6 separate regions of the Homo sapiens genome follow, and all the other regions are linked to region 2. Evidence: promoter capture Hi-C in 16 types of primary human blood cells and fetal thymus (Javierre and others, 2016). All regions are on one chromosome and are shown on one strand. The core of a region is centred on a gene start or on the middle of the fragment in contact, and the rest is flanking DNA. Distances in the headings are between cores, read along the strand shown.

Region 1 (2,750 bases), core at 1-2,500, 1.2 Mb before region 2:
CAAATCTGGTGGCATCACACAGCAGGAGGCAAGATTAACTTGGTTACTATTTGGTTTTACCTAGAAGTGAAAATAAAATCATGATATCACTACTAAATTAAATATAATACCAAAAGTAGAAAGCAATAAGCAATAAAATAACTTAATTTTAGAACATATGAAAAATCACAATCCACAGTGATTAAAGTTTACAAAATACTTTTACATTAATATCTTTATTAATATATGCTTTTCTAACCCAGGTTAGTAGTAATAGGGAATAGGAATTCCCTATTACCTTTTCCCTATGTAATAGGGAAAGGAAGTGTAACACTAGGGGAACGAAAAAGCCAACAGTACTACACTTTTTTTTTTTTTTTTTTTTGAGATGGAGTCTTGCTCTGTCGCCCAGGCTGGAGTACAGTGGCGTGATCTTGGCTCACTGCAACCTCCACATACCAGGTGCAAGCAATTCTCCTGCCTCAGCCTCCCAAGTAGCTGGGATTACAGGTGCCTGCCACCATGCCCAGCTAATTTTTTGTATTTTTAGTAGAGACGCGGTTTCACCATGTTGGTCAGGCTGGTCTTGAACTCCTGACCTCAGGTGATCTACCCACCTCGGCCTCCCAAAGTGCTGGGCTTACAGGCATGAGCCACCATGCCCAGCCTGGTACTACACTATTAAAAAGTCTCCTGCTAGAACCATTTAACAATCTAATACATCTGCCTAGAACACAAACATGATTTTTGTTAGTTTGTTAAGTGTGATGGTTTCAGCTACAGAGCAAATAGTTCTTAAAGGTAAAGGATCAAATACAAGTAAATACCTTTAATGTTAAAGTATAAAATATGGCTATGAATCAGACACATTTTGAAAGAGAAGAATTGACAGCTTCCAGTAGCTACACTGGTTAATTTACATTCTGAATCATCTAAGTCTCTCCAATACTTTCTTGTCCTCATTCTGGCTATCATCAAGGAGAAGGGGAAATACTTTCTCTAGGTCTTCCTGTCCATAAGAAACTCTGAAAGCTCTGAAAAGGAGAAGGCTGAAGAAGAAGTAAAAGGAATAAAGAAATACTGAGAGTAAAGGTAAAACGCTAGTAAGTGACTTTCCTAATAATTTTGTAGGTTATTAGACCAGAGAGTGGGAATAATTAATTTATGACACTCACTCCATATCAAGTTGTATGAACTGACAGTCTTACACATCTTTGAATAACAGCAAAATATCTGTTATATATAAAATATTCCCTTACTTAGGAAATTAGAGCCATGGTCTAATAGTACCTAAAGAAAAAGAAGGTTTTTCTTTCTTTTTTTTTTTTTTTTTGAGACAGAGTCTTGCTCTGTCACCCAGGCTGGAGTACAGTGGCGCAATCTCAGCTCACTGCAACCTCCGCCTCTGAGGTTCAAGTGATTCTCCTGCCTCACCCTCCTGAGTAGCTGGGATTACAGGTGCACGCCACCATGCCTGGCTAATTTTTTTATTTTTAGTAGAGACAGGGTTTCACCATGTTGGTCAGGCTGGTCTCGAACTCCTGACCTCATGATCTGCTCGCCTCGGCCTCCCAAAGTGCTGGGATTACAGATGTGAGCCACCACACCCGGCCGTAAGGTTTTTCTTTAGGTATTATTGTTTTCAGCACATAAGTAGAACTGAAGGAAATGGCCTTAATTCATTTGGTATAAATGTTTTAACACACATCTTCTAGTATTTTTGTCACTCATTTTAACCAGGATTAACATTCAGTTCAATCAGAGATATATTTAAATAAAAACAAACAAAAACCTCAAATGATTTAGATAAAACCTGCCTCAAAACTCCTGCAGAAACAAAACAAAACTCCCACATGTGGAAAAGTCACCCCGCAGGGGTGGCCACTATGTGCATGATGCTCAACAGTGTGCAGCAAAGACTGAAAAGGGCAAGTTCTTCCTGGAGTGCTCATGATCCTGCCATCCCTCACCTGTGCCCACTGATACAGCTGTTCCAACTGTGTTTTGTCTAGATCAGAGGTACCTATGGCAACAATCTTTTTGCTCTGAACTAAGTTTTCTAATTCCTCCCAGTAAGGCTGTAAATGCTCCAAGGAAAGATTAACTCCATCTTCAATAGGAGGTGAAGCAATGATCACAGAATCCAGCTGTGCAACTCCAAGGACTGAACAGGCTGATAGGAAGGAAGACACAAAGAAAATAAATGCTTACATCATAAAAACAAATATTTCTAATGTTTTCAAAGTATCCCACTGAATTCTGTCCATATTCTTCACTTGTTTTCAAAATAACAGATTATTTCATAGTTTACTTTTCATTTAGAACATTTCTATCTTTCAAAAATGTGTAAGTGCCCATTTACCTACTTGCTCTGTGTGGCAGACAAGTGGGTTTCTCTGACCTGCCTTATTCCTAGGCAGCTTGCAGCTACTACTACATGCTCCTCTTTCTAGGGAACAAAATTTCTTCTTGTTTCCTAGGTCCCAGAAGTTTTTAGTAGCTCCCTTATCTTCATAAAATTTTCTTCTCCAGTTCTACTTGCTCACTACTATCGCATATGGATGATCACAAGAATTATGACCTAATATTCTGTAACTAGTAGTCACAGCAAAGAATAAGCTTGAGACACTGAAAAACTGAATGTTTGGTCTTAATCCATATTTATAGAGGTAGATAATTTCTTAATTCTATAAAAATAATTTAAGAGCTTATTTTAAATGATTATTCATTCTAAAGTTACATTAAAGAGCCAATTATTTAAGTTTTCAATA
Region 2 (2,808 bases), core at 206-2,705:
CTGCGCCACTGCCCTCCAGCCTGGGCAACAGCGTGAGACTCTGTATAAAAAAGAAAAAAAGCAAGATTTTAAATACTCTTTACAATCTGGACTCAGTTTACCTCCCTACATTGAACTCTACACGATAGTGTTCTCTCAACTCTGGTCATTCCAAGTGTTATCACCTTCTTTTCACATCCTCCCAGCCCTCGAAACCCTGGCTGTCCCTCATCTGACTAATTCTGGGTCATCTTTCAAGTTTCAGTTTAGCATCATTTCTTCCAGGAAGCTGTCTGTTTTTTAAGACCTGATAAAGTAGTGCCCTTCCTGAAGACTGCCATAGCAATTTGTACTTCTTACACAATTATTACAAGATTATAGCATTTATCTCATTGTGGCAAATACTCATTTTGATTTATTTTCTGTTAGTTTTTTTGTATTCTCTATTTCATTTACTGCTGTATCTTTGCATCTCTCACAGGACTTAGCACGGAGTCAGCACTCCGTGGCAAGTAATGTTAGTCAGTTTTGTTATTTCCAGAGGTTAGTTTAGTGTTTGGTCTTTCTAACAGCTCAAAACAGATTAAGTGAATAAAGTAATGCGTTATACTTGAACATAAACTTAGTACATTTACTCATACTATACATGTTCTATCTGGATGCAATCTCCTGCCATACCCAAATGTTTACATTGTGTCTGTGTGTGTCTGTCTGTCCCTGTCAAATATGTGTATTTAAAATTGTAAGCACCTACAGAGTTGGTGGATTTAGATTGTATTACCTGACAGGTCAGTGTGTTGCTCACACTCTGCCACCGCGTGTGTATTGTTCTACAGCCCGTAGATCATTGTTTTTATCCTCTTGGACTTTGTATATTTATAAATGTGACAATTCATTTTGCCTCATTTGTCATGTAGCATTCGTGTTTCCTAAACTAAATACGCAATACCTAGATTAATAATGCACAACAGCCATACGGGGAAACTGCATGTTTGCATCAAAAGGCTTCTACGTTCTCTGTTCACTAATTGTTTGAAAAATATACGCTACAGAGAGTCTTAATTATAGACAAGTGTAAATTACTTGTCATAAAAAAAACCTCTGGGCCGCGTCAGCAAACCAGCCCCTACCCTGGCTGGACTGCCCGGTTCCGGCAAGGCAGAGAAACTACAAATCTCTGCATGCAACACTCCAAGAAGTGCTAAGGGTACCAGGGAAGAGCGTCGCGGTGCACTCTGGGGTTTGTAGTGACCAACCCAAGTCCGACAGTCGCCTCCTCGATACTTACCGGACCCAGCCACTACCAAGATACTGAGAGACTCCCGGGGCGTAACGTCCATGGAACGAAGCACTACCCATATTCGCAGGATTAGGAAAACCGCCACAGCTCCTGCGGCCGCAGCTAGAACGAGAACGCACACCATGCAGAGAAACGGCGCATGCGTCCAACTTCCGGGGACCAGCCGCTGTCAAAGTTCACAACTACGGGTGCCGAAGCGACTCAAACGCGGAGGACGCACGTCTTGGTGGGCTGGTCTTTCCTGAGCTGGGAGGAGTGGAGGCGACGGAGAAGCTGAGGTCCCAGTCACAATCCATTTTACCTCATTTATCATGTAGTATTCGTGTTTCCTAAACTAAATACGCAATACCTAGATTAATAATGCACAACAGCCATACAGGGAAACTGCATATTAGCGTTAAAAGGTTTCTACGTTCTGTACGTTCACGTTTGTCAGCGGAACCCCTGCTTCTGCGCGGATTGTGCGCAGCTGCAGCCAAGCGTAAGCTGAAAATTGTAAAGTTAAGCGCTGGGGAAGCTTGATTTACGCCCACGACGAGGTCAGGCAGTCTCTGCGCCCTAAAGGTCCCGAAACTCCCCAGTTAGGAGGTGTTCTGGCTCTGTCAACTTCGTGAATGCCACCTGAAGCTAAGGGAATACATCCTTTCTTTCTTTCTTTTTTTTTTTTTAATGCCAAGAGAAATGTTTCTGTTGCACACAGACATTACTGAAAGTGTTCGCCAGTAAGGACCCTAGGCTTAAACATCGAATTTAGGGCCCTCATCCAAACCCCCTGTCTCCCAACATGTATGTTTTTAACTTTTCTCGAGGTTTTCACAGCTCTCAGTGTGACCAGAGTAGTTGAGGGTGACCACCTAAAGGTAAGCCACACTCCTAAGAGGATTGCAAAGCTCAGTGGCTCTAGGTAGCAGGATAGACAAGGCACAGTCCTACAATTAATATTCAGTTAATTTTATCACAAAGCATTTCCAGTGTGTTTCTCATGTCCTCAGCCAAAATGATGATCTGCCAACACCCCCTTCAATCTCAATTTTGCTTATGTCTAATTAATTAATTGTTAATAAATTAATTATGTCTAATTAATCCACATTACGACAACATAAAATACTAAGATCAGGAGCCCCTTCACCCCAAATATAATTTGCCTTCGGTCCACCATAGACCTACCTGTAGGTTATATTGAACAGGTATACAGATGAGTAAAAAGGTTCAGAAAGGTGCAACTGCTTGCCCAAGTGGAATAGCGTCAGATCTAGAATCAGAAACCAGAAATCTGAGTCCTGCTGGACAGGAGTACTGCATCCTGTATTCCTTTGCTAAATTCAAACTTGCCTGATCACCACACTTACCTGGAGCCTAGAATGTGTTATTAAAGGTGCAGACTCCCAGGGTCCATTAGGAAACACTGAATCAGAATTTCCGGGGATCGGGCACCTGGGATTAGCTTATGTAACCAGCGTGTCCATTCCTATCAGCAAGCAAGTTTGGGAGACTTTGTGAGTAGAGTCCGTGGACCTTACAACACTTTC
Region 3 (3,099 bases), core at 453-2,952, 1.2 Mb before region 2:
TCTGCTTCAGACACTATTTCTTCAGTGTAAGACTCCTTTGTTGGAGTTACTTTCGGCTTTTTCCTAACACTGGACACTGGGGAGCATGCAATTAAGATCTGCCTTCTCCTAGTTACCCTTAAAATGGTATCATGGTGCTCAGACACAGAATAATTTGACTCTGCCTCAGAGGTTTCTCCATCCGTAGATGGTTCAGTCCCCTTTGGTAGTGAGCCTGTAGTTCTGCTCTTCCTCTTTCTAGCTTTAGGAGTTCTAGGGATTAAACTTTGCTTCCCAGTGGTCTGTGATTCAGCAGTAGTTCGGGCATCAGATCCAGTACTACTTTCTGGATGCGCTTGAATCCCATTAGCAGCAAAACTCTGCAAACCAGAGAAAACACACTGTAATTTAGGTAGGGCTGGAACAAGGGCAAAGCAAATGAAATACTGACCCCAAAAGCTAAAACCCAGTAAACAAGATTACCTTTAAAACAAAAAACAAAAAAACCTGCCCAACTCATGATTTTTAAAAAATCAAAATTTGGCCGGGCGCGGTGGCTTACGGCTGTAATCCCAGCACTCTGGGAGGCCGAGGCAGGTGGATCACGAGGTCAGGAGTTCGAGACAGCTTGGCCAACATAGTGAAACCCCATCTCTACTCAAAGTAAAAAAATTAGCGGGGCGTGTTGGTGCGCACCTGTAATCCCAACTACTCAGGAGCCTGAGGCAGAAGAATTGTTGGAATCCGGGAGGCAGAAGTTGCAGTGAGCCGAGGCTGCGCCACTGCACTCTAGCCTGGGCGACAGAGCAAGACTCCGAATCAAAAACAAACAAACAAAAAAATCAAAATTTAAACACTGGAGCCAACCCTGCATTTACTTCACTAGCCTCATCCTTCCTAGATGTAACTTCAGAAGCAGAACGATTAAAATTTTTCTGTTTAAAGTCAAATATAATGGGTAGACCAACATTCTGACCCACCTATAGAAGAGGGGAGAAAGGGAATATTAACTCTGAACACCGATGTGTTTAGGAACACACTGATGGAATCAGTCGCCGCCCTTACCTTTACGTACAGGAAAAAATCGCCGCCGCTCCGTTCCCTGCATCGCTGAGTCAGAATGAGACAGCCGACTAACGCCACTAAGAGTCACCAGGCGACGACACCACAGCCCTCCTCACGCCTTAAGGAGGTGATGCTGGACAGCTGCCAGCCTCCCCACGTGAAAACGAAGCTTTTTTTCCAGCCCCCCTAAATGGGGCTTGTGCATGGTGGCCGAAATTAACCCTCCTTGGTACCGTGTTAACAGTAAGGTTTAAAAGTTCGAACTGTGCTTCTGCATTAAGGAGTTGAACGACCCAAATAAAGTTATCTAACCTCTCTTCCATACTAAAAATTGCCTTAAGAGACAGTGGTGAAGGCTAAACAGTTTCCGTGACAGGCTTAGCACGGGGCCTGGGAGACCCAAGCGCGCGGCAAGCTCGGGTCCTCTCTGTCGGCAGGTCCTCACCCTTAACCGGACCCTTGCGCCGCCCCGCCTGCCTGAGCGCGGCTCTGCGAAGCGGCGAGAAGTAGGGAAGACTGGATTTCCTACCTTTTGCCCGGAACTTTCAGCCGACGCGGCTTGGATGCTGGCCTTAGCCCGTGCAGATCTGGTAACCACCATCTTTCCGGCTCCCTCGCGACCACCACGACTTCCCTCTTCCCTGGCGCTCCGGAAATGCGTCAGAGAACTGCCTCGAGCGCGTTTTCCGCGCAGATCCGAGAATTCGCGAGAATCTCCGCCCAGCCAGTTCAGGCCAGGGCGGTCAGAGACAAAGGGCCTGGGTTTAAGTGTGCATTTCAGAGCTGTAGAAGGCAAGCCAGATTTTTGCTGGGAAAGACCTTCATCGGGGCGGCGAAGCCCGCAGTGACAGAGGGTCTTAGCGTACCCGTTCACATGAATTGTAAAAACGCACTTACATGCCATTCGTTCTTTCATTTGTTTAGTAGAATCGTTTGAACCCGGGAGGCGTTCTTTCATTTCTACGTTCTAAAGAGCTTAATGTAGCCATTGGTATGTCCAAGGGAGAAGTTTGAGATATTTGTGCTTTTTAAAGAAAGACAATATTTACTCGTGTATTGTGACGCTAACTATAAATAAAATTTAAGGACTTGGTTGGGGTAAAAGGGATATAAGGTGCTCGCAGGAACTGGGAGACGAAGTGGAAAGCTGTATAATCTAAACGTGAGATGGTGTTTAGGGATTGGGAATAGCAGAAAAGAAAAAAACGTTAAAGAAATTGTAAAGGAGAAGAATAAGGTTTTGTTGTTGTTGTTGTTGTTGTTATTGTCACAGTGAAAGGAAGAGTATGACCAGAATCAAGAGGTTTCTTTGGTTATCTTTTGAGATAAAAGGTAGAGAACTATGTTTGAGGGGATGGGAAGGGGTTGAAAAAATAAGTAAACGCAAATTATTGTTGGAGGTGAGAAAGGATGAATGAGTGCCTCACCAAACCTAGTCTCTACTTCATGACAGAAAACCAATTTTTTATTTAAAGTCACAGAACACTGTGTCGATGGACACACTGCTTCCCAGCTTAAAATAGCTTATTTTATAGTCTCTCTTGCAGCCAAATGTGGCTATGTGACTACGTTTTAGCCAATTAGGTATAAATTGTGTGCATGTCTTTAGGGACGGCATCTAAAAGAGAGGAGGCCGTCCCTGACTTTTTTTTTTGGAGACGGAGTCTTGCTCTGTCGCCCAGGGTGGAGTGCAATGGCGCAATCTTGGGTCACTGCAACCTCCGCCTCCCGGGTTCAAGCGATTCTCCTGCTTCAGCCTCCTGAGTAGCTGAGATTACAGGCGCCCGCCACCATTCCTGGCTAATTTTTTTTTTGTATTTTTAGTAGAGACGGGGTTTCACCATGTTGGGCAGGCTGGTCTTGAACTCCTGCCTTCAGGTGATTCACCCGCCTCGGCCTCTCAAAGTGCTGGGATTACAGTGCTGGGATTATAGGCCTAAACGACCTCGCCCAGCCCTCCTGATCTTTTAAAGTGCATTTTACTTCCTGGAAAGTTGGGTTCGCTGGTTTTCAGGCGGCAAGTTTGTGCCATAAGGATGAAGGCATGCTTTAGAG
Region 4 (2,719 bases), core at 210-2,709, 1.9 Mb before region 2:
TGAAAACATCGGAATTTGCTGTGGAACGAACAAGATTTCTTCTAAGAAATTACCCCCTACCACCATGACTACATAAAATAAGGTAATTCCCAGCAAGAATATTATGCAGATACTAAAAAGAAAACATGCTAGGCATGGTGGCTCACGCCTGTAATCCCAGCACTTTGGGAGGCCGAGGCGGGTGGATCGCCTGAGGTCGGGAGTTCGAGACCAGCCTGGCCAACATGGTGAAACCCCGTCTCTACTAAAAATACAAAAATTAGCTGGGCATGGTGGCGCACGTCTGTAATCTCAGCTACTCGGAAGGCTGAGGCAGGAGAATCGCTTGAACCCGGGAGGCGGAGGTTGCAATGAGCCGAGATAGCGCCACTGCACTCCAACTCTAGCTTGAGCAACAAAGCGAGACTCCGTCTCAAAAAAAAAAAAAAAAAACAATGACACGAGGGAAATGCTTACAATGCTCAATGAAAAAATGAAAAGAAAGGTTATAAAGTTTTAATATACGATTTGATCTTTTGAAAATAATGGATATATAACTTAAACGGAAATGTATCATTAAATATAGCAACAGCGTCTTCCAAAAAATTTCAAAATCGGGCTTAATGCCAATTACACGATCATAATCCAAAAACCCTTAACTGAAGCAAAGACAGTGATTTGTAACATCTGAACTGTGTGAAAGGGGTGGGGGTGATTCAAACAAGTGTCATCACCTTGTCCAATGATGAAGGAGAACGTGTATCAGTTCTGCATTGTGAAATTCTCAGTATGAGAGCGTGTAGTGGCTAAGAAAAGCAGTGGGCGAATTAGGAAACAAAGAGAAAAGCCAGCGACATCACCAGTTCTGGCCTCCTTCCCACCGGAGGAAAGGGGAGAAGGCGGGTAGTCATCAATTCCAGGTCCAGCCTAAGTTCTGGGTCCCCGGCCCCAGCGAGAGCCTCGCCTCGCCTCGCGCGCCTGCGCGGAGCGGGCTGGCTTCCTGAACGGCCCTCGCCTCTTCACCACCAGGGCCGTCCACCAGAAGTTTCTAAACGGGTGAGAGGCGACAACGCAGTGCAGCTGGGTTAAAGGAAGGAGGCTGGTTTATCCTCCGCACTTACTTGGTACTCGATCTCCAGCGAGGCCTTCAGGGGCATGGGCTGGTAGAAGCACTCCTTCTGGCCGGCGGGAAGGGTAAAGGTGAAGTCGCTATCGAGGGAAGGTGTGAAGCCGGCCGCCCCAGGCAGCAGCACCGGAGGCAGAGCGGCCAGAAGGAGCACGGGGAAGGGCAGCCAGATCTTGTCGCCCATCCCTGCTGGGGCGATCCCGGGCTGAAAGAGGCGTCAGGTACTGTTGTCTCCGCTCCGCGTTTCCTCTCTGGACTCCTCGTGGTTGACAGGGAAATCTGGAGTCTGAAGAAACTCCAGGTGGCGGCCGCGGCGGCGGCGAACACTCCCTCCGAAAGAGAAGCGCAGTTCTCCAAAGGGTAGGGACTCTGGGCGGGGCTAGCAGTCCTATTCCGCAACCGCCTCAGTCTCGGCCCCCTCAGGCCAGGCGTGAGCGCCGCCCGCCTCTCCCCCTGACGGCCTCCGGTTCCCATGGCTTCCCCCACCAATGGGCATCATGGCGGTAATTGTGGGAAATGTAGTCCCGGGCGGGCTCCGCTAGTGGGCTCGGGCGCGCTCGCCGACCACGATCCCCGGCAAGCCCCGCGCCTTCGGCGGCGCCTCACGCAGTCTGCGCCGGGGCGGGGCAGTGACCGGGTAGGCGCGTCCCAACGGCTCCCGCGGCGGTTCGAATTCTGTGCTGCCGGGGTTCGCTGGTTCTCCGAGTTGTGTCCGAGGCTTCCACGCGCAGGGGCCCGGGAAAGGGTCAGAGGCTTCCTAACGCAGACTCGAGTGCGAAGCGCGCAGTCGCCGGGTGGGTCTCTCCCCAGCGACGATTTGGGTGGTGAGCGACTGCGCCTTGGCGTGGGGAAACCGGCTTACCTGGGGGAGTTCTGTTCCTTTCCCTCCCGGCACCTTGGATGCGCTGGGACTGGTCCTCGTGGTTGCTGAGCATGCTGCTCTGAACGGTTGTATTTTATTTGATGAAAAATAGGAGGCCGGGCGCAGTGGCTTACGCCTGTTACCTCAGCACTTTGGGATGTCGAGGCGGAAGGATTGCTTGAGCCCAGGAGTTCGAGGCCAGCCTTGGCAATATGGCGAGCCACTGTCTCTATAAAATTAAAAAAAAAAAAAAAAAGAGGAAACTGTCACTTCCGTCCCCCACCCCCGCCCCCGCTTCTTTCAGACGGATGTAAGATTAGCTGTGTCAAGCGATCTTGAGACAGGAGACTACTACATAAAGTTATGACTTCTTTCCAAAATGAGGAATCTTTTTCGACTACAGCCCATTGTATCACATACATAGGGTATAAAAGAACACTTGTCCTTCGTTTGATGGGTGTGCGTGTGCAAACCTACAAACACATTGTTAATTAGGGCCGAAAGATGATGTTGTTAAGGTCGGTGAGTAGGATGATGTGCTTTTCTAGGTATGCATAGTCAGTGAAGATAGCCTTTTTTGGGTAACTACTGTAAATTGAAGTTAAGGACATTCATTTGACAGTAAATGTCCCACTAGGAAAATGAAAACATTTTAGTATCAAATATATTCATTGCTACTGCAGAAGAGTTAGGGAGTTCTTTCTTTTTTTTTTGAGACCGAGTCTCACTCTGTCGCCCAGGCTGGAGTGCAG
Region 5 (2,910 bases), core at 207-2,706, 1.2 Mb before region 2:
GGATCAAATATCAACATGCATTTTGGTGGGGACAAACTAACTCTATGCAAACCATAGCACCTCTCCATTACTAGTGTTGAAAAACTTGATACTAAGTAGCCCTCCCCTTTCTAGTCATTTATAGTCTGCTACTGAAGATCTGAGAAAAACGGGATGCTAACCTTACCATTCTACAAACGCAGTTATTATACAATTACACTGTCAGGGATCCAGAAGTAAATAATTTGCATTCAAGGGCAGACATTCCAAGCAAGGAGGGCAATTTCAGCCGGTGTATTTGCTACTGGTTGTGACTATCTACCTGATGTCTTGAGATATAATAAAATGCACAGAATGGATCATTTCAAGGAAAAAGTGGGCAAAGACCAAAAAATAGTGAAATAGTGAAATAAGGAGCATCCCAGTGGACCTCCATGTCCTTCAGATGAACTGGGACACATTCTGAGTCTAGTTCCAAATTTCAGTTATTTAGTTATAAATAAACAAAGCAATGGCAAATAAAAACTAAAAAGTGCCAGGCGTGGTGGCTCACGCCTGTAATCCCAGCACTTTGGGAGGCCGAGGCAGGTGGATCACCTGAGCTCAGGAGTTTGAGACCAGCCTGGTGAAACCCCATCTCTACTAAAAATATAAAATTAGCTGGGCGTGGTGGCATGTGCCTGTAATCCCAGCTGCTCAGGAGGCTGAGGTGGGAGAATCGCTTGAATCGTGGAGGTTGCAGTGAGCCGAGATTGTGGCACTGCACTCCAGCCTGGGCAAAAAGAGTGAAACTCAGTCTAAAAGAAAATAAAAAGAAAAAAACTAAACTAAACTAAAAAGTGGGCAATGTATCTAGTTAGATTCAGAAAGCTGAATGACAAACAACAAGATCTCAATTGGGACAAGGATTGCTGATCTCATCTATGGGTCTATAACAGGAACATACCATGGGGAAACAGCAGAAGTTGTGAAAGCTTAGATACCTCTGGCTGGAGGATTTTCTTTATCAATCAGCTTGGTACTCAAGTATGGTCATTGCCTAACTGAGGTCGTGGGCCTGATCCTTCTGACTCAGAAGAAGGAAGGCAGCCAGGAGTTATTCATCTGCCTCTTTTAGATTGGACTGAATCTACATTCTGTTAGACACCATTAGCAATATAACTTTTCTTCCTCAGTTCCCTCACAAAATGAGAAGTAAAAGGTCATAGTTTCCTCTGAAGTAATTTTTTTGGGCCAATATATCAGATTGATTCTGAGCTTTTTGATGGAGTTTTGAGATTTGCTTATTAAGGATTTAAATTCATGCTAATAACAGAAGCCCAAGTGGAATAATGAGAGCTTGAATACCTAAGCCCTAAACCAGTGCATTTTAAACTTTAGTGCAAATGAGTCACTGAGGGGATCTTAGTAAAATACAGATTTGATTCAGCAGGCCTAGGGTGGGGCCGAGAGCCTGCATTTCTAATCTGCTCCCAGGTCATGCTGATACTCCTGGTTCATGGTCAGCATTTTTGCAGGAAGGGCAGAGGGCATTATTTTCAAATTTGGCTACATATGAGAATCACCTAGGGAGTTTAAAAAAAATGCTGATGCCAGGGTCCCATCCCCAGAAATTGTGATTTAACTGGCCTCAGGGTGCATCCTGGGCATCAAGATTCTAGAGCGTGGTAGAGTTTGAAGACCGCTAGTCTAACAAGTCTGCTCCCAGTTGCTTGCTGATTCTCTCCTGATTTCTTTTCTAGGAGAAACTGCTGTAGTCCAGGGTATATGTGAACTTGGGGACAGGTGCCTGGATTCAATCCTGCTGCTTTCCCTGTGGTTTGCCTTCCCATCTGGGAATGGGGCAATGATCCTGCCTACCTTAGAGGGTTGTTATGAAGATTAAGTGAGGTCTGATATACATGAAGAACCCAGAAAAGTGCCTGGTGTGATGCGTTATTACTTCATTATTATTTTCAACTGCTAAACAATTAAGATTCACTAAGCTTTAATAGATGGTTATTTGTTGTGAGGCCCACGAGTGGGGCTCAGAATGCCTTTCCTTCCAAATATGCTTACCAGAAGAAGTCATCCTACTAGTTTGTTGAGAACTTAAAAGGCAGAGATGTCATTCTGAGGGGAAGAAATTTAAGACCTACTCCCCCAAACTGGGTCACTGAAAGCAGGAATTAGGACACTGAAGATCCACTTCTACTTCCACAAACGCATTCAGGCATCATTTATGGAGTGTCCACTGTGTACATGATATTCTGCCAAGCCTTGGGGAGAATTACAAAACAGTTAGAAAGCACGGATGTTTAGCTTTCAAGAGCTTCTGGTCTAATGCAGAAGATAAGCTAGGCACATAGTCAAGTAGCTTCCTTATTGCCTACAGGACTCATTCATTTGTTCAATCAATATTCAAAGCTACTTGTTGTGAGCTAGCCACAATGCTAGGGACTGAGGTTACAAAGATAAAGGAAAAGAAGACGTGCTCCCCCCACTTTCCTCCCACTCCCCCAAGATGCTTATTGTCTGGGAGAAGAGATAGAAAACCACACAGAAAATTATAGAGCTTTGAAAGTACCTTGGGAATCCAGGAGTCCCTCCCCACCACCAGCAGACTAGGCTGCAGAAGAATGTCTGGGAAAATTCTCGGAGGAGGTGACATGGGGCTGCTCAACCCCAGGCTCCTTAGCCTTGCATTTGAAGCGCTTCCGGATCTTTGCCCCACTGACTTTCTCAGCTGTATCTCTTAAGTCAAGCCCATTTCCTATACTCATTCATGCTCTGCTGTCTGACTTTGCTCAAGATTGCAAGGTCCATGGCAGCAAGGACAGCATTTGTCTTCTTCACCAAAGGGTCCCAAGAGACTTGTGGAGAGCCTGGCTAGTCTCAATGCTTAAATGAATGAATGTGGTCTTTTGTTTGTGCAGGGACAAGCCTGACCAG
Region 6 (3,127 bases), core at 274-2,773, 1.7 Mb before region 2:
ATATAGGGCTCAGACAGAACGTTTTAAGAAAACACTGTCAACAAGCCAGTTGCCATCATATGTATCAAGAGTAATGAATCTGATGAACCAAAGTGACAAAATGGATTTCAACAGTGTCTTGTTTAGTTTTTAGAAATTCCAACATCCCACTATTTATAGTATAGCCTCTTCTTCCACATGACAGTATGACAGACTCAGTTTTTTTACTTTTTTTTTTTTTTTATCTTTTTTGAGACAAAGAATCTTGTTCTGTCACCCAGGCTGGAAGTGCAGTGGCACAACCGCAACTCACTGCAGCCTTGACCCCCTGGCTCAATCGATCCTCCCACCTCGCCCTCCAGAGTAGCCGGGACTACGGGTGCCTGCCACCAAGCCTGGTGAAAAAAAAACCCGTGTTTCATATTGTCATATAGAAGAGGCTATACTATAAACAGTGGGATGTTGGAATATATATTTATATATATAAATATATATTATATATATATATATATATATTTTTTTTTTTTGTAGGGACGGGTCTCACTATGTTGCCCAGGCGGGTCTTGAACTCCTGGGCTCATGTGATCCCCCTGCCTCAGCCTCCCAAAGTGTTGGGTTTACAGGTATGATGAGCCACAACGCCTGGCTGACACACTTTTTTTTTTTTTAAATGCAATTTCTGTTTAGACCTTGACACCTGTTGATATTACTAGTCACTATGGAAAGAAGTAAAAACAGTTGCTTAAGATGCTCTAACACTTTTTTCCCCTGTAGAAGCCAACATGGAATACAACATGAAAACTGTCTAAATGGGAACCTTCTAATATAGCTCATTGTATGCCATGCATTTCCACTCCATTTCCACTATGTTGGAACTGACTTCTGCTTTCCTACTTAGCCATTAGGCGACTTAGTTGCCTCTAGGCAAGTAACTTCTCTGAAATGTTTCATTTTTCATGAAGTTTAAAAAAAAAAAGGTGAAGGACTTTAGAGAGCTTTGAACCGAATAAGGTCTATCAGACATCTTGAAAAGCTTTTTCTCCAGACGACGCAGAAACAGGCACACGGGGTTCTGCTTTCCCCACCTCCCACCCCCAAGCCCAGGTCCCATTCTTCTCACTTTCAATCCTCATTTGGGCTCCTAAAGGAATAGCAAAGAGAGTTATTTTATCAATACCAGCGCTCCTCTGTCCCCAAATCCAGCTAGGGAAGGTTTCGGAGGCCTCAGCTACTTGAGAGAGGGTAGAGACGATCCTTCCTCGCCTATCTACCCAGCCACCCACCCCTTCCCAGATGTAGCGTCCGGGCCCCAGACCAAGCGCGTGCTTGGAGCTCTCCGGTACAGTGAGGCGCGCGCTTGCCTGGCTAGGGTCCCTGTGAAGGAATGGGATCCCGAGGTGCTTGCCAGGACCGTAGCAGGCGGAAGCTGCTGGCAGCGCGAACGGGCGGCTCCCGCCGGCGTGGGTGGGGGAAGGGCGGCAGCCACACCCGGAAGTCGGTCCGGGAGGGAGGGGGAAATCTGAGGGAACGAGGCTTCCGGTGGCGCAAAGGGTGTCGGGAGCGGCTTCCTGCAAACCTTCCCTGGCATCTGGAGGGACCACCGTTGCCGCGTCTTCGGCTTCCACGATCTGCGTTCGGGCTACGCGGCCACGGCGGCAGCCACTGCGACTCCCACTGTGCCTGGCTCTGTCCATATTAGTTCCCAGGCGGCCGTCGCCGTTCCAGCAGCGGCAGCGGCAGCGGCAGCGGCGGACATGTTGTGAGGCGGCGGCGCGGGTGTCTGAAGGATGGTTTGGCCGAGGCGGCGGCAACGGCTGCTGGCGGCGGCGGCAGCGGCAGCGGGGCCTCGGGCTCTATAGAGCCGAGCCCGCTGGGTACCCGCCCGGTACCGCGGCGAGGCCAGTGCCCCTGGATCTTGCCTCTGCTCCGACGCCGTTGGGGACCAGTTAGGCGACAGCGCCCGCCCCTCTGAGGAGACACGAAGGTGGTTCCCCAGCCGCTCAAATTTCCGGACCACCGCGCTTTCCCCTCCTCAGCCTGGGCTGTGCTCTCTCTAGAATCCTCGGGCCCCCACTTTCTTCCCAAACTCATCCTAAATCTCTCACACACGCGAGTGTTCCCAGCCCTCAAGCCAGCTGCTCCTCCGTTCATTTTCTGCACCCTCTTCGCAAAGCACCCCCCGGGATCACTCTCCGAGGGCGACTTTTTGAGAAATCTCGGTGGAGTAGTGGACCAGAGCTGGGGAGTTTTTAAAAGCCGGGGCGCGAGAAACAGGAAGGTACTATGGCTTCCTCGTCTGGCAACGATGATGATCTCACTATCCCCAGAGCTGCTATCAATAAAATGATCAAAGAGACTCTTCCTAATGTCCGGGTGGCCAACGATGCTCGAGAGCTGGTGGTGAACTGCTGCACTGAATTCATTCACCTTATATCTTCTGAAGCCAATGAGATTTGTAACAAATCGGAAAAGAAGACCATCTCACCAGAGCATGTCATACAAGGTAAGTCGTGTGTGAGAGCTGGTTTGAATGAGGTTCTAGGGTAGCAGTCTGCTAATCGCGTGACCCTTTCGTGTCAAAGCCTCCATTCCTCTTCCCTGGTAAGTAACTTAATGAAAAAGCCAGACTGGCATGTAGGCAGCCGGTGCTTTAAAAACAATCCCTTTGTAGCATTTTTGCAGTACTTTTCATCCAGCGAATACATGTAAGGAGTGCAAACATTTAGGTCAGCGTCCCCAAAACGTAAAGAATAAGAGTGATCTCACTTTACAGCCAGGTAAGCCGAAGCAACAAGAATTACTTGCCTGAAGTTGAACTTAGATAATAATTAAGGAACGCAGAAATTCTCCTTTGGAAAGTTAAAATTCAGACGGAGGAACTTCAACGTGGGTGGAGACAGAGCACCCCCTTCCCCACCTGACCTTTCACCAATGTAGAGGAAAAGATTTATTTTCTGAACACATGAGTTAAAAAATTCTTAACATACAATGTGTTCAACGTTGTCAAGTTTATCGTTGTTAAATAAAAGGTGTATGTTTTCTGCTCTAAAAATGGTTTGATGGTACGTTCATGAATGAGTTACCAAATAACTCCTGTTCCATTCTGTAAGAATAGGGTGAACTTTAAATTTTCGTTTTTTTCTTTTCG

The links. The method cuts DNA at HindIII sites, captures the fragments that hold promoters and counts their contacts. A CHiCAGO score of 5 or more calls a contact.
Region 1: a contact is called between a fragment that was not itself captured here and the fragment with the promoter of ALG14 in region 2, in 1 of 17 cell types (naive CD8 T cells). The highest score is 5.5, in naive CD8 T cells.
Region 3: the fragment with the promoter of DNTTIP2 here is called in contact with the fragment with the promoter of ALG14 in region 2 in 8 of 17 cell types (activated CD4 T cells, non-activated CD4 T cells, total CD8 T cells and 5 more); the score reaches 18.0 in activated CD4 T cells.
Region 4: the fragment with the promoter of TMED5 here is called in contact with the fragment with the promoter of ALG14 in region 2 in 1 of 17 cell types (naive CD8 T cells); the score reaches 8.2 in naive CD8 T cells.
Region 5: a fragment that was not itself captured here is called in contact with the fragment with the promoter of ALG14 in region 2 in 2 of 17 cell types (activated CD4 T cells and non-activated CD4 T cells); the score reaches 7.0 in activated CD4 T cells.
Region 6: a contact is called between the fragment with the promoter of DR1 here and the fragment with the promoter of ALG14 in region 2, in 2 of 17 cell types (naive CD4 T cells and total CD4 T cells). The highest score is 7.9, in naive CD4 T cells.

Annotation. Positions count from the first base shown.
Region 1 is chr1:93,894,669-93,897,418 of GRCh38, forward strand. GCLM (glutamate-cysteine ligase modifier subunit) reads right to left here. Exons shown (of 7, transcript NM_002061.4): 5 at 1,950-2,152; 6 at 1-60. Among named protein-coding and RNA genes, the nearest start is that of GCLM, 13 kb to the right of the region's middle. The HindIII fragment of the contact is 2,691 bases long and covers 1-2,596 here.
Region 2 is chr1:95,071,496-95,074,303 of GRCh38, forward strand. ALG14 (ALG14 UDP-N-acetylglucosaminyltransferase subunit) reads right to left here and starts at 1,456. Exons shown (of 4, transcript NM_144988.4): 1 at 1,268-1,456. The coding sequence starts at 1,403. RefSeq lists enhancers at 898-977, 1,218-1,577. The HindIII fragment of the contact is 2,572 bases long and covers 1-1,794 here.
Region 3 is chr1:93,877,504-93,880,602 of GRCh38, forward strand. It overlaps DNTTIP2 (deoxynucleotidyltransferase terminal interacting protein 2), which reads right to left and starts at 1,703. Exons shown (of 7, transcript NM_014597.5): 1 at 1,574-1,703; 2 at 1-359. The coding sequence starts at 1,645. RefSeq lists enhancers at 1,429-1,858, 1,710-2,525. The HindIII fragment of the contact is 5,310 bases long and covers 1,212-3,099 here.
Region 4 is chr1:93,178,954-93,181,672 of GRCh38, forward strand. It overlaps TMED5 (transmembrane p24 trafficking protein 5), which reads right to left and starts at 1,460. Exons shown (of 4, transcript NM_016040.5): 1 at 1,101-1,460. The coding sequence starts at 1,289. It overlaps CCDC18 (coiled-coil domain containing 18), which reads left to right and starts at 1,771. Exons shown (of 29, transcript NM_001378204.1): 1 at 1,771-1,899. RefSeq lists enhancers at 841-990, 1,861-2,070 and a silencer at 1,521-1,800. The HindIII fragment of the contact is 9,002 bases long and covers 1-2,719 here.
Region 5 is chr1:93,838,509-93,841,418 of GRCh38, forward strand. It overlaps a transcript of BCAR3 not described here. Among named protein-coding and RNA genes, the nearest start is that of MIR760, 6.9 kb to the right of the region's middle. RefSeq lists a silencer at 872-1,072. The HindIII fragment of the contact is 1,011 bases long and covers 952-1,962 here.
Region 6 is chr1:93,344,384-93,347,510 of GRCh38, forward strand. It overlaps DR1 (down-regulator of transcription 1), which reads left to right and starts at 1,524. Exons shown (of 3, transcript NM_001938.3): 1 at 1,524-2,482. The coding sequence starts at 2,263. It overlaps CCDC18-AS1 (CCDC18 antisense RNA 1), which reads right to left and starts at 1,428. Exons shown (of 9, transcript NR_034089.1): 1 at 1,341-1,428. RefSeq lists enhancers at 1,119-1,654, 2,024-2,093, 2,154-2,363. The HindIII fragment of the contact is 13,248 bases long and covers 1,011-3,127 here.